Regions from separate parts of the Homo sapiens genome. Here regions 2, 3, 4 and 5 are each linked to region 1. The links are contacts of gene promoters, found by promoter capture Hi-C in human tissues and cell types (Jung and others, 2019). All regions are on one chromosome and are shown on one strand. Each heading gives the region's core, a stretch centred on a gene start or on the middle of the fragment in contact. The rest is flanking DNA. Distances are from core to core; before and after follow the strand shown.

Region 1 (2,700 bases), core at 152-2,651:
GATACAGGCGTGAACCACTGTGTCTGACCCAAAGGATTATTTGAGGAGCAGATGAATTAATGTGTCATAACCTCAAAGCAGTTGCAAAGGCGTTTAATAATTAAAATATCACATTTTAAATTAAAATATAAGGCTGGGCGTGGTGGCTCATGCCTGTAATCCCAGCACTTTGGGAGGCTGAGGTGGGAGGATCACTTGAGCCCAGGAGTTCCACACTAGCCTGGGCACCATTGGGAGACCCTGTCTCTACACACACACGCACACACACACACACACACACAAACTTAAAGTAGCCAGGCGTGGTGCTGCGCGCCTGTTGTCCCAGCTACTCGGGAGGCTGAGGCGGGAGAATCACTGGAGCCTGGGAGTTCGAGGCTGCAGTGAGCCGAGATCGCACCACTGCACTCCAGCCTGGGCCACAGAGCAAGACGCTGCCTCAAACAAACAAACAAAAACAAAAATTAAAATATTAAGTAATAATTAACGAGTGTTAATATCCACTCGTTGTGGAGACAAGACCTGGACTTAGGAAACAGGCCCAGGGAAGTAGCAGAACAGTAGCGCTAGAGGACGCCTGGGAGAATCAGCGCGCGGCGGGAAGAGCCCGGGAAGCTTAGTGGGGAAGCGTCTCTTGATGGGGTGAGGAATTCTATAAATTAGTGGAGATGGAAAAAAAAAAAAAAAAGTATTCCCAAAGTGGGAGACAGCACTCAGAAAGACGTGGTGGTAAGAACGAGTATGAGTAACGGGGACAACGAGGACACTGGAGATTGGGGAGTGTTGGGCTGGAAGCTGGTGTGCAGCTGTGGGCAAGCTAGGGAGGACCCCGAAACCGCCAATGCGTTTCCCGGACGCAGACGCTGGCAGGACGGGAGGAACCCCGAGACCCCGCGCCATCCCTTCAGGAAGAGTTACTTCTCCCCGGCCAAGTTAGTGGGCCTTGGGCCTTCTTTCTGTTGGGATCCTCCTCGCGTGTCGCCATCGCTACAAGTGGGCAGCTCTGCGGGGAAAGCTGGGACGCTGGGGGCTTCACCAAGGAGGCTGGCGGCCGACCACTGGGAGGTCTGGCGGGGTGACGACCACTGGGAGGTTTGGGCAGGGCCTGACGGGGTGACGCGGTCAGCCCACTGGAGGCCGACACCCCCCGTCAGCCCAACCCCTGCACGCGCGGCCGCCAACCAAAGACCCGCGGCGCCGGCCTGCGAGCCCCCGCCCCGCGTTGCCCAGGAAACCGAGGGTGTGGCTCCGCGTTCTCTGGGCGTCCCAGGGACTGGGCGCACAGTGGTCGGCGGGATGAGGCGCCTGGTGACGGACGGGGCGAGGAGGGCAGCGATTGGTGAGATTAGGCGATGGGCGGGGAAGCCGCGCGGGGATTAGCGAGTTGCGGCGATGGGCGGGGCAGGCGCGCGGGGATTGGCGGGATGCGGCGCGCCGCGCGGTGAGTGGGGTCCAGGGAAACGGGGTCAGCTGGGGGTGGCAGTTCCAGGCCGCGAGGCCGGGCTCCTGGGTCGGTGGGCTGGTGTCTTGGCGGACGTCCCGCAGCTGCCGCGTGGATCCGAGCCGGGGCACCCGCCGTGACTGGGACAGCCCCCAGGGCGCTCTCGGCCCCATCCCGAGTAGCGCGGCCTGGCTGCTGCCGCCATCAAGCACGTTCGAGCCAAAAGCTCCTAACGAGTCACTCGTTAGACACGTGTGCGGAGCCTGTGTCCCAGGCCAGTGCTGTCCCGTGGAGATAGATTGCAAGCCGCTAGGGAATTTTTTAACTTTCTAGTAGGTGTACGAAAAAAGTAAAACGAAACAAATCAATTGGAGTAAATCCATAAATATATTCAAACTATTATTTCAATTGTATGTGAAAAAATTATTGGGATATTCTTTGTACTATTCTTAGAAATCCATTGTGTGTCCAACCCAAACATCACAGTTGGACTCACCACATCTCCTGTACTTCGTAGCCCTAGGTGGCTAGTGGCATAAGACACAAAAATCTCAGCTCTCCTGGAGCTTATGGTCTAGTTGGAGCAGGCAGACAATACATTTAAAATATACAGTTTGTTAGAAGGTAAATGTTGTAAACAACAATAACAGTTGAAGTACTGGGGAGAGTTGCAGTTGTAAATCAGATGGGCAGGGCACAAGGTAACATTTGAGTAAAGATGTAAGAACTTGAAGGAGATGGGCAAGTGAGCTCTATAAGTATACGGGAGAGGGGCAAGCAAGAGTTCAGAGGCCCCTTGCTGTGGGGAGGGATCCAAGGTGGAGGAGTGGGAACCAGGAGGGGAGAGGACCAGTGGAGCAGATCTCATAGGCAGTTGTAAGGACTTGGGGCCTTATTCAATGAAATGAGGACACTTTGGAGAGTTTTGAACAGAGCAGTGACTGATTTATGTTTTGGTTTTGGTTTAGTTCTATTATTATTTAATAATAGGCTTATTATTTCACAGAAGTTTTATTTAATAAGGCAGACCTCTTGTCTGGAAATGAGACAGGTGCCGGAGAGCTGGATGGAGGCAGATCGGGAATTCCATTTGGGGCAAACTGAACTTGATTGAGACCCTGGTAGTTGTCCAGATGGAACAGGACACCTGAGTCTAGGGTTCGGGAAGAACTCCAGATGGGACAAACACTCCTAGCTTTCCTTTTCTCTTTTTGGATGACCGCTACAGGGTGAGACATCGGTATCCAGGCACGATAAATTTC
Region 2 (2,700 bases), core at 22-2,521, 470 kb before region 1:
CAAGCAATTCTCCTGCCTCAGTCTCCTGAGTAGCTTGGATTACAGGCTCCTGCCACCACACCTGGCTAATTTTTTGAATTTTTAGTAGAGATGAGGTTTCGCCATGTTGGGCAGGCTGGTCTTGAACTCCTCACCTCAGGTGATCTGCCCACCTGGGCCTCCCAAAGTGCTGGGATTACAGGTGTGAGATACCGCGCCCAGCCTCTTTCTTAATTTTTGAGACAGGGTCTCATTCTGTCACCCAGTCTGGAGTACAGCGGTGTGATCTCGGCTAACTGCAGCCTCTGCCTCCCAGGCTCAAACCATCCTCCCATTTCAGCCTCCTGAGTAGCTGGGACCACAGGCATGTGCTACCATACACAGGTAAGTTTTGTATTTTTGGTAGAGACAGGGTTTCACCATGTTGCCCAGGCTGGTCTCAAACTCTTGAGCTCAGGTGATCCACCTTCCTCGGCCTCCCAAAGTGCTGGGATCACAGGCATGAGGCACTGCGCCTGGTCTCTAGCATTTAATTTTTAATTTTTATTTTATTAAATAAATAACACATTATTTTCTGTTTTTTACTCTCAAACTCCTTTTGACTTTGATTTTTAATTTTTTATTTATTTATTTTTTTAGAGACAGGGTCTCACTTTGTCATCCAGGTTGGAGTGCAGTGGCATGATCATAGCTCATTACAGCCTCAAACTCCTGGCTTCAAGCATTCTCCTGCCTCAGCCTCCCAAAGTGCTGGGGTTATAGGCATAGGTCACTATACCTCGCCTCAAATTCCTTTTTACCAAGTGACATATTCATATGGCTCAGAAATAAAAAGTATATTTAAAAGTTTTGTTTGTAAAGTCTCCTACCCCATGACCATCCACCTCATTCTTTGTTGGCTTGCCAGACCCCTTCCCTGCTGGGGTTAACTCTTGTTGGATCATGGGGCAGTCATTTATCCTGGGGTGAGAGCAGAGGTGGAGGGAATTCAGGGGTTTGGTAGTGGCCATTTACCGACCAGGACAAGAATATTTCTATATTTTAACCAGTATAACCCTACTGGTGTATATGAGCTAAATCTTAGGTTACCTATAACCACTTACATTAGTTTCTTAAATATTCTTCCAGTGTTTTTTCATGAAGGTACAAATACCAAAGAGAGTTTACTATGTATTCTCTTCCGCATCTGCTTTTCAAATTGATGGCCAGGTGCAGTGGCTCACACTTGTAATCCCAGCACTTTGGGAGGCCAAGGTGGGTGATCACCTGAGGTTGGGAGTTCGAGACCAGCCTGGCCAACATGGTAAAACCCCATGTCTACTAAAAATACAAAAATTAGCCAGGTGTGATGGTGCACACCTGTAATCCCAGCTACTTGGGAGGTTGAGGCATGAGAATCAGTTGAACCCAGGAGGCAGAAGTTGCAGTGAGCTGAGATGGCGCCACTGTACTCGGGCCTGGGCTGCAGAGTGAGACTCTGTCTCAAAAAAAAAAAAAAAAAAAAAAAAAGGCTGGGCGCGGTGGCTCACACCTGTAATCCCAGCACTTTGGGAGGCCGAGGCGGGCGGATCACAAGGTCAGGAGTCGAGACCATCCTGGCTAACACGGTGAAACCCCGTCTCTACTAAAAATACAAAAAACTAGCCGGTCGCGGTGGCAGGTGCCTGTAGTCCCAGCTACTCGGGAGTTTGAGGCAGGAGAATGGTGCAAACCTGGGAGGCGGAGCTTGCAGTGAGCCGAGATTGCGCCACTGCACTCCAGCCTGGGTGACAGAGCAAGACTCCGTCTCAAAAAAAAAAAAAAAAAAAAGAAAGGAAAACAAATTGAACAGTATATCCTGGAAATCTTTCTATTCGTATAAAGCTTTTCAGTTCATAGAGAGCTTCCTGACTTTTTCCAGTTGCATAACTGCATTGTGTGGTTTCAGTAGGGATAGCTCATCAGCGTTCCATTTGGTATTGGCTGGGGCAGCTCCACTGGGACTGCAGGATCCAAGATGGCTTCATTCCAATGACTGGTCCAATTGGGTGGGCTGGACCTCCTGTCAGCTGGGTTCCAAGGGAATGAAAATGGAAGCTGCAAGGTCTCTTATGGCCTAAGCCCCAGAAGTCATATAGCTTCTCTTCCACTGCATTGAATTGGTCAGAACAAACCACAGGGCCAGTTCAAATTCAAGTTGAGGGAAAATAGACTCCACCCCTCAATGGGAGGAACAGTATGTGTTTATAGGGATTGGAGGAATTGTCAGCAGTGGTCTTTGCAGACAGTAACACACCAAAGCCCAATCAAGGTTCACGTCTTTTTTGGTATTATGCATCTTTTTATTTATTTTTTTGAGATAGGGTCTCACTCTGTCACCCTGGCTGGGTGCAATGGCGCGATTTGGGTTCACTGCAACCTCCACCTCTTGGACTCAAGCAATCCTCCCACCTCAGCTTCTTGAGTAGCTGGGACTATAGTCACACAACACCACTCCTGGCTTAACTTTTGTATTTTTTGTAGAGGTGGGATTTAGCCATGTTGCCCAGGTTGGTCTTGAACTTCTGGGCTCAAGCGATCCACCCACCTGGGCCTCCCAAAGTGCTGGAATTATAGGTGTGAGCCACTGCGCCCAGCCTTGGTCTCTTTTAAACTAGTACATTTCCCCCACTTTCTTTATCTTCTCTCTCTTCTTGACTTTAGTTTTTGAAGGGCTGAGGCAAACTTTCCCATACTCTGGAT
Region 3 (2,700 bases), core at 25-2,524, 340 kb before region 1:
ATGTTAAAACTCCATATTAACTTGAAGAGTATGATCAGTTTTGTTCTCGTTAAATTTTCCTGTTAAAAGGAAGCATATCATTCTATTGTTGGTGGCTTCCTTTTTTCTGTCATTAAATTCAGTTACAGAAAGTTGCCCTCAAGAATTATATACAAATCTCATGTGTCCTCAGATCCATTAGTAGCCATACAGTTAATGTTTGTGTTGCTTTTAGCAATGGTATCTTCTTCTCCACCATATGTTATAGATGTGTGACAGTTAGGAAAGCAGTTGTTTAATTAATTACAAAAGTAATTTGGAAAATTTGGAAAATAGAATTATCCAGTTCTATCACTATTATTACCTTGTTCAATTTTCTTCTGATTAAAACAATTATATTTGCTAGTTCTTTATTAGACAATTATAATATTAGAAAATACATGACCACAGGTCTAGGCATGGTGGCTTATTCCTGTAATCCCAACACTTCAAGAGGCCGAGGCAGAAGGATTGCATGAGCCCAGGAGTTCCAGACCAGCCTGGGCAACATAGTGAGATCCCGTCTTGAAAAATTAGCCAGGCATGGTGGTGCATGCCTATAGTCCCAGCTATTCAGGGGGCCGAGATGGGAGAATTGCTTGAGCCCTGTAGGTCAAGGCTACAGTGGGCCATGATCGTGCCACTGCACTCAGCCTGGGCAACCAAGTGAGGCCCTGTCTCAAAAAAAAAAAAAAGAAAAAATTAAGAAAAATCCATCTACAATAGAATATATATAAAAAAATACTTAGGAATAAATTTTTAAAACTCCAAAACTAATAATACTCCCAAAACAACACAACATTGTTGAAAGGAATTTCTTCTTTATAATCCTGCAGCCATTGTCAATATACTGTGAGATGTCCTTGCACACCTTTCTCCAGGCTCATACACATGCTTGTATGTATGCATACACATCACCACACACACACACACACACACACACACACACACACACACACACAGCACTCCCCGTCTAATCCTGCAGCCAGTGTCAGTATACTGAGATGTGTCCTTGCACACCTTTCTCCAGGCTCATACACATGCTTGTATGCATGCACACACATCACACCAAGTGCACATGGCACACCATACCAGACACATGTACGGTTTTAAAAACTTGAGATATAGTTCACGTATCTTAAAATTTGTACTTTAACATGTACAATTCAGTGCTTTTCACATATTTACAAGGTTGTATAACTACCACTATTATCTAATTCCAGAACTTTTTTTTTCCCCCGAGACAGAGTTTCGCTCTTGTTGCGCAGGCTGGAGTGCAATTTCACAATCTCAGCTCACTGCAACCTCCGCCTCCCAGGTTCAAGTGATTCTCCTGCCTCAGCCTCCCAAGTAGCTGGAATTACAGGCATGCTCACCATGCCTGGCTAATTTTTTGTATTTAATAGAGACGGGGTTTCACCATGTTGGTCAGGCTAGTCACAAACTTCTGACCTCAGGTGATCCACCTGCCTCAGCCTCCCAAAGTGCTGAGTTTACAGGTGTGAGCCACCATGTCTGGCCCCAGAACATTTTTATTACCTGAAAAAGAACTTTGTATGCATTAGCATTCACTCCTCATTTTCTCTCAAACCTCCCAGCCCTAGGCAATTACCAGTCTACTTTGCCTTTGTAGATTTGCCAATTCTGACATTTCATATAAATGGAATAATACATTATGTGGCCTTTGTGTCTGGCTTTTCTCACTTAATGGAGTGTTTTCAGGATTCATCCATGTTGTAGCATTTATCAGTACTTCATTCCTTTTACTGACAGAATAATATTTTATTGTATGGACATACTTCATTTTGTTTATTCATCGGTTGGTGGACAGTTGGATTGCTATTATGAGGAATAGTGCTATGAACATTTGTATACAAGCTTTTGTGTAGACATATATGTTCATTTGTCTTAGGTATATACCTAGGAGTATAAATGCTGGGTCCTGTTAAACTGTATGTTTAACCTTTTGAGGAAGTGCCAGGCTGTTTTCCAAAGCAGTTCCACCATTGTACACCAGCAATCTATGGGGATTCCAATTCCTTCACATCCTTGCCAAAACTTATCTATTTTTTTTGATTGTGGCTATTCTAGTGGGCATGAAGTGGGATCTCATTGTAGTTTCCATGTGCATTTTCTAGTAACTAAAAATGTGTATTTTTTCATGTGCGTTATTGGCTATTTGTATATCTTTGGAGAAATAACTATTCAAACTCTTTAACCATCTTTATGTAGTCTACATACAAGTCCTGTATTACATATATAATTTACAAATATGTTTTCCCATTAGTTTCGTAGTTTAAAACATGTATTCCTAAGTATTTTATTCTTTTTTGAGTCTATTGTAGATGGAATATTTCTTAATTTCATTTTCAGATTGTTCATTGCTAGTTTATAGGAATACAATAGATTTTTGTATAGTGATCTTGTAACCTGCAGCTTTGCTAAATTTGTTTATTAATGCATAGTTTTTAGTGGATTCCTTAGGATTTTCTATATACAAGATCTTTTCATTTGCAAACAGATAATTTTACTTTTTTCTTCTCATCTGGATACTATTTATTTTCTTGCTTAACTCCCCTGGCTAGAACTTCTAGTACAAAGTTGAATAGAAATAGTGAGAGTAGGCACCCTTGTCTTATTCCATTCATCGGGGAAAATGTCTAGTGTTTCACCATTGAGGAT
Region 4 (2,700 bases), core at 191-2,690, 450 kb before region 1:
TAACCTAACAGCCAGATGCTAGTCTCTGGTACTCAGATGCTGGGCTGCATCAGATAGGATGCACAGGATCATCCTGGAAGCTTGTTGACATAGATTCCTGTGCAACACTCAGATATAGTCTTAATGTAGATTTGTGTTGGGTGGTATGGTAGGTAGAATAATGGCCTACCACTCTGAAACATATGAATATGTTACCTAACATGACAGAAGAGAATTAAGTTGCTAATCAGATGACTGTAAAATAAATTATCCTGGATCATCTGGATGGGCCTAATGTAATCACAAAGGTTGTTTCCTTGCCTTTTCCAGCTTGGCTCTGGCTCCCTTCCTCCAGCAAGGGTGGGTTGAGCTCTCACATGGCACCACTTTGACCTCTTCTGCTTCCCTCTTCTACACTGAAAGACTTATGGGCCAGGAGCAGTGGCTCGCACCTGCAATCCCAGCACTTTGGGAGGCCGAGGAAGGCAGATCGCTTGGCCCCAGGAGTTCAAAACCGTCCTGGGCAACGTGGCGAAACCCCATCTAGAAAGAAAAGAAGAGAAGGGGAGGGGGGAGGGGAGGAGGAGTTACATATATACACATACACACACACACACACGTACGTACATACATACATACACGCTAACTGGACGTGGTGGTGCGTGCCTGTAGTCTTAGCTTTCCAGGAGACTGAGGTGGGAGGACCACTTGAGCCTGAGATCGCGCCAGCCTGGGTGACAGTCAGACCATGTCTCAAAAAAAAAAAAAGATTTGTGATTAGGATTCTTAGTCCTCACCTGTATTATTTTCCTATTGCTACTGTAACAAATTACCACAAATTTACTGGCTTAAAACGACGCAAGTCTGTAGGTCAGAAGTCTGACACGGGTCTTAACTGGTGACCCGAGTCAGATTTGGGACACAAAGAACAGAAACCAAGCTGTGCAGGTTTCTGACAGGCAGTCCGGTTAGGGAGCCCTACAGCAACCCGCCGGTCCTCTCTCTCAGGCAGTTGCTGCCATGGCTCATTATTCCAACCGGTTCTCCTCAGCCCAGTCTATCTCAGTGGCTCCATTCATAGGGTGATGTGCCCGGCGGGACACTAACCCTAACCAAGCAGAGAGACGGTCATGCCCGTCACGACCTCGGCCCTCGCCCCGGCCGAGGCTTCTCCTGCAGGTCGCGAGAATCAGGTGCGTCAGCGGCGTCCGGGAACGCCGGAAGAGCCAGTGGAGCGGCTCTGTAGTCCAAAGTACCCCGTCGACCCCAGCACGGCCGCTCCACCGCCTCCTACTAGACCCAGTCCTAGGGACTGCGCAGTCGCAGAGCTCCGTCCGAGTACCGGAAGCCTAGGCCGCCAGCACTTCCGGGAAGTGACTTCGTCTCCGAAGCCGATTGGTTGTTGCTTTGCTCCCGCTCGCGTCGGTGGCGTTTTTCCTGCAGCGCGTGCGTGCTGCGCTACTGAGCAGCGCCATGGAGGACTCTGAAGCACTGGGCTTCGAACACATGGGCCTCGATCCCCGGCTCCTTCAGGTACACGCGAGGGCTGGGGAGCCGGCTTACGGGCTCTGCGGGGCGCGCCATCGCTCTTCACGCCGCTTAAACCGCACTCCTGGTCTCCTAGGCTGTCACCGATCTGGGCTGGTCGCGACCTACGCTGATCCAGGAGAAGGCCATCCCACTGGCCCTAGAAGGGAAGGACCTCCTGGCTCGGGCCCGCACGGGCTCCGGGAAGACGGCCGCTTATGCTATTCCGATGCTGCAGCTGTTGCTCCATAGGAAGGCGGTGGGTAACGAGAGAGCTGAGGGGAGGAAGGAGGCAAGCTCCAAAAGCCTGGGAAGGGCGGTTCCCGTTTGTCTGAGGTTTTCTCTTGGCCCTGTACCCGTGCAGGCCGGCCTGAGAACCTGGTGCTGTTGTGGCAAACACTCTGGGCTGGAGTTCAGGTTACCTGGATCCTTGTCCGGCCCTGCTACCACCAACCTTTGCGTAATCTTCGACAAAGCACTTTCTTTTCTTTCTTACATAAAAAGGGAGCACATCTATCTTTTCTACTTACAGAATTATTGTGAGAATTTAGCTTCATAACTAGTATATTTAAAGTAGCTTCATAAACATCAGAGTACGTTATTCTTTTTGAGGGTCAGTGCCTGGGGAAAGAACTCTCCACTCTGCATTCTGAGGCGGGCAGAGTGATAGATGATCAAAGTACTGCTAAGTAGTGTTGCAGCAGATGGGTCAGGTAGGCTGGAAGGGGTAGAGACACGTGGACACAGTGATGTGCACTGCTGGCTAAAGTCTTTAATTCATATTCTTACAGACAGGTCCGGTGGTAGAACAGGCAGTGAGAGGCCTTGTTCTTGTTCCTACCAAGGAGCTGGCACGGCAAGCACAGTCCATGATTCAGCAGCTGGCTACCTACTGTGCTCGGGATGTCCGAGTGGCCAATGTCTCAGCTGCTGAAGACTCAGTCTCTCAGAGGTGGGTAAAAGCAGCAAAGCTGTACCTGAATGAAGCTACACAGTGTTGTGGGGTTGGGTTTGTGTGTGGCAAAAAAGAGAGCAAATCCAGGGTGAGATCCCAGCTGCTACATTCTGCCTGATACTGATGTCTTGTCCACCTCCAGAGCTGTGCTGATGGAGAAGCCAGATGTGGTAGTAGGGACCCCATCTCGCATATTAAGCCACTTGCAGCAAGACAGCCTGAAACTTCGTGACTCCCTG
Region 5 (2,700 bases), core at 77-2,576, 370 kb before region 1:
TAGCATATTAAAGGTGTATACTATCAAACATGACTTATCATTGTTGATGTTGACCTCGATCACCTGGCTGAGGTCATCCTCGTCAGGTTTCTCCCCTTTCCACGCTCTACCATTAGGAAGAGTCACTACATGTATCCTAGACATAAGAAGTAGGGAGTCATGCTCCACCTCCTTGAGGGCAGACTAGCTACATAAATAACTGGGAATTCTTCTGAACAGAAAATGTGTCTATTTTCTTCCATTTCTTTATTCAGTATGAGAAATATCTCTATATATCATATAGGTATGTATATATCAATATATTTATATGTATATCGGTATGGACTCACAGGTATTTGTTTTATATTTTGGGTTCTAATATAATAATACCTTATTTTGCTGCTCAAATTGTTCCAGCTTTGGCCATTGGAAGCGCTTTCCTTTGTCATACCCCCATCATTGTGTGGTTTTTTTTTTCTTTGCACTTCCTTTACTTTGAGACACCACCCACAAGATGCTCCAGGCGCATCTTGTATATTTTCTGTGCCAGTCCTAGAATCAGCCATTTCTCCAAGAAGCCCTGGTTCCTTCTATTGGAGAATATCAGAAACCAAGATCTGGGTGGAAGGTATGCTCGTTGTTACTGAAGCATTGTTGCTTCTAGACCTTCTCAGCTGAGAGCAAGTAAATACATGTATGTACACTCACCTGCATATATACACATTTCTGTAAACAGTTCTACACATAGCCATCTGTATCTATAAGGATGAATTTCTAACTCTGATCTATTACCACATGGATCATTCTAGCCTCCTTCCCCGCTTATTTATAACTCTCTCACTCCACCAGTGAGAAACCTGGATCCCACCACCCTCCACCATTTACTTAATTGCTCATTTCCACTATACATATCTAGCGGTTTCAGAATTGATAACCCATACCCCTGTTAGGAATAATTGTATCAACTAGATTTCAGTGTTTATATACAGTTCCTTTTGTCTTTAGTCTTACAGACTCTGCTCATTTCCAAAGTTACTTAGGACAGCATCTCTTTCTATCATCCCTTCAGTGAGGTTGTTTCATACATCTGTGACACAGTTAGATTGTTTTGTCACATTCTGCAACCCATTCTGGGATCCCCCAATCTCCTAAGTGATTTTTTAAAAGACTGCCTATATTAAGGTTTACTCTTGGTGCTATAAATTTCTATGGGTTTTGACAAATGTGTAGTGTCACGTATCTATCATTATTACTACTAATTATTATTATTAATAATTATTACTATTAATTACTAATTATTACTATTAATTACTAATTACTAATTATTGCTATTATTACTAATAATTACTATTAATAATTATTACTATTAATAATTATTACTATCATTATTCTATGATAGTAATTACTATCATATAGAATAATTTTACATCCTAAAAAATTCCCTGTGCATCATTCAACCTTTTTTTCACACGCAGACCCTGACAACCACTGATCTTTTACTGTTTCTACATTTTGCATTTTTCAGAATGTCATATAATTGGGTGGTAGCATTTTTTGAGTGGTTTCTATCTCTTAGCAATACGCATTTAAGATTAAGCCATATCTTTTTATTGATTGACAGCTTATTCCTTCTTACTGCTGAAAACAGTACTTCATTCTATGAATGTACTACCTTTCGTTTATCCAGTACCTGTTGACGGCACCTGGTTGCTTCCCATTTTTGGCAATTTTGAGTAAAGCTGCAATAAACATTTGCATGTAGATTTCTGTATGGACATAGTTTTCAAATAAGCTGGGTAAATACATAAGAGCATGATTGCTGGACTGTGTTATGACATTATGTTTAGCTTTCCATTCAATTTAAAAGATATTTTGGCCGGGCACGGTGGCTCACGCCTGTAATCCCAGCACTTTGGGAGGCTGAGGCGGGTGGATCACAAGGTCAGGAGATCGAGACCATCCTGTGAATGGTGAAACCCCGTCTCTACTAAAAATTCAAAAAATTAGCCGGGTGTGGTGGCGGGCACCTGTAGTCCCAGCTACTCGGGAGGCTGAGGCGGGAGAATGGCGTGAACCCAGGAGGCGGAGCTTGCAGTGAGCCGAGCTGAGACTGTGCCACTACACCCCAGCCTGGGCGACAGAGCGAGACTCTGTTTCAAAAAAAAAAAAAAGATATTTTATTTACTTTTTGAATAGGTAATGCATGTATATGGTATCAAATACAAAAGTAAGTTTTTCTCCTGTTTTATAGTGTTTCCCTCAATTTCCCTTCTCCAGATGCAGCGTCTGTTCCATTTCTTCCTTTAGGTGCTAAAGAAAATTATTCAAAACTTTGAATATAGCAAGAAGATGACTGCATGTGCTTCCAGTTATACTGAGGAATTATATAACAGGCTCACCCGAGATTCATTAATTCTCTAGGGCAGTGATTCTCAGAGTGTAGTATGTGGCCCTGGGGGGCCTCCAAGGTAAAAATAACAATACTATGATGTTATTTGCTTTTTTACCATGTTGACATTTGCAATGATGGTGCAAAAGCAATGGCAGGTAAAACTGCAAGTGTCTCAGCAGGAATCAAGGCAGGCCATTGTCCTAGCTTCCTGCTGTCACAAAGTACCATAGACTGGGTGGCTTAAACAACACATGTTTATTCTCTCACAGTCTTGGAGGCCAGAAATCCAAGACCAAGGTGTTGGTATCTGGTGAGAATTCTCTTCCTAG

What was found. Contacts are between HindIII fragments. The study calls those that stand out against the background at their distance.
Region 2: a fragment that was not itself captured here is called in contact with the fragment with the promoter of POLD2 in region 1 in 1 of the 25 tissues and cell types used here (stomach).
Region 3: a contact is called between a fragment that was not itself captured here and the fragment with the promoter of POLD2 in region 1, in 1 of the 25 tissues and cell types used here (lymphoblastoid cells).
Region 4: a contact is called between the fragment with the promoter of DDX56 here and the fragment with the promoter of POLD2 in region 1, in 3 of the 25 tissues and cell types used here (H1 embryonic stem cells, IMR-90 fibroblasts and heart left ventricle).
Region 5: a fragment that was not itself captured here is called in contact with the fragment with the promoter of POLD2 in region 1 in 2 of the 25 tissues and cell types used here (hippocampus and mesenchymal stem cells).

Annotation. Positions count from the first base shown.
Region 1 is chr7:44,122,249-44,124,948 of GRCh38, reverse strand. POLD2 (DNA polymerase delta 2, accessory subunit) reads left to right here and starts at 1,401. Exons shown (of 11, transcript NM_006230.4): 1 at 1,401-1,438. RefSeq lists enhancers at 736-795, 315-1,219 and a silencer at 1,006-1,715. The HindIII fragment of the contact is 6,473 bases long and covers 70-2,700 here.
Region 2 is chr7:44,590,453-44,593,152 of GRCh38, reverse strand. No RefSeq gene overlaps it. Among named protein-coding and RNA genes, the nearest start is that of TMED4, 9.6 kb to the right of the region's middle. The HindIII fragment of the contact is 6,428 bases long and covers 1-2,700 here.
Region 3 is chr7:44,457,217-44,459,916 of GRCh38, reverse strand. All of the region lies in intron 2 of NUDCD3 (NudC domain containing 3), which reads left to right. Among named protein-coding and RNA genes, the nearest start is that of NUDCD3, 32 kb to the left of the region's middle. The HindIII fragment of the contact is 5,507 bases long and covers 1-2,700 here.
Region 4 is chr7:44,572,648-44,575,347 of GRCh38, reverse strand. It overlaps DDX56 (DEAD-box helicase 56), which reads left to right and starts at 1,440. Exons shown (of 14, transcript NM_019082.4): 1 at 1,440-1,512; 2 at 1,604-1,765; 3 at 2,298-2,458; 4 at 2,604-2,700. The coding sequence starts at 1,453. RefSeq lists an enhancer at 1,674-1,823. The HindIII fragment of the contact is 7,915 bases long and covers 1-2,700 here.
Region 5 is chr7:44,493,752-44,496,451 of GRCh38, reverse strand. No RefSeq gene overlaps it. Among named protein-coding and RNA genes, the nearest start is that of NUDCD3, 4.4 kb to the right of the region's middle. The HindIII fragment of the contact is 7,594 bases long and covers 1-2,700 here.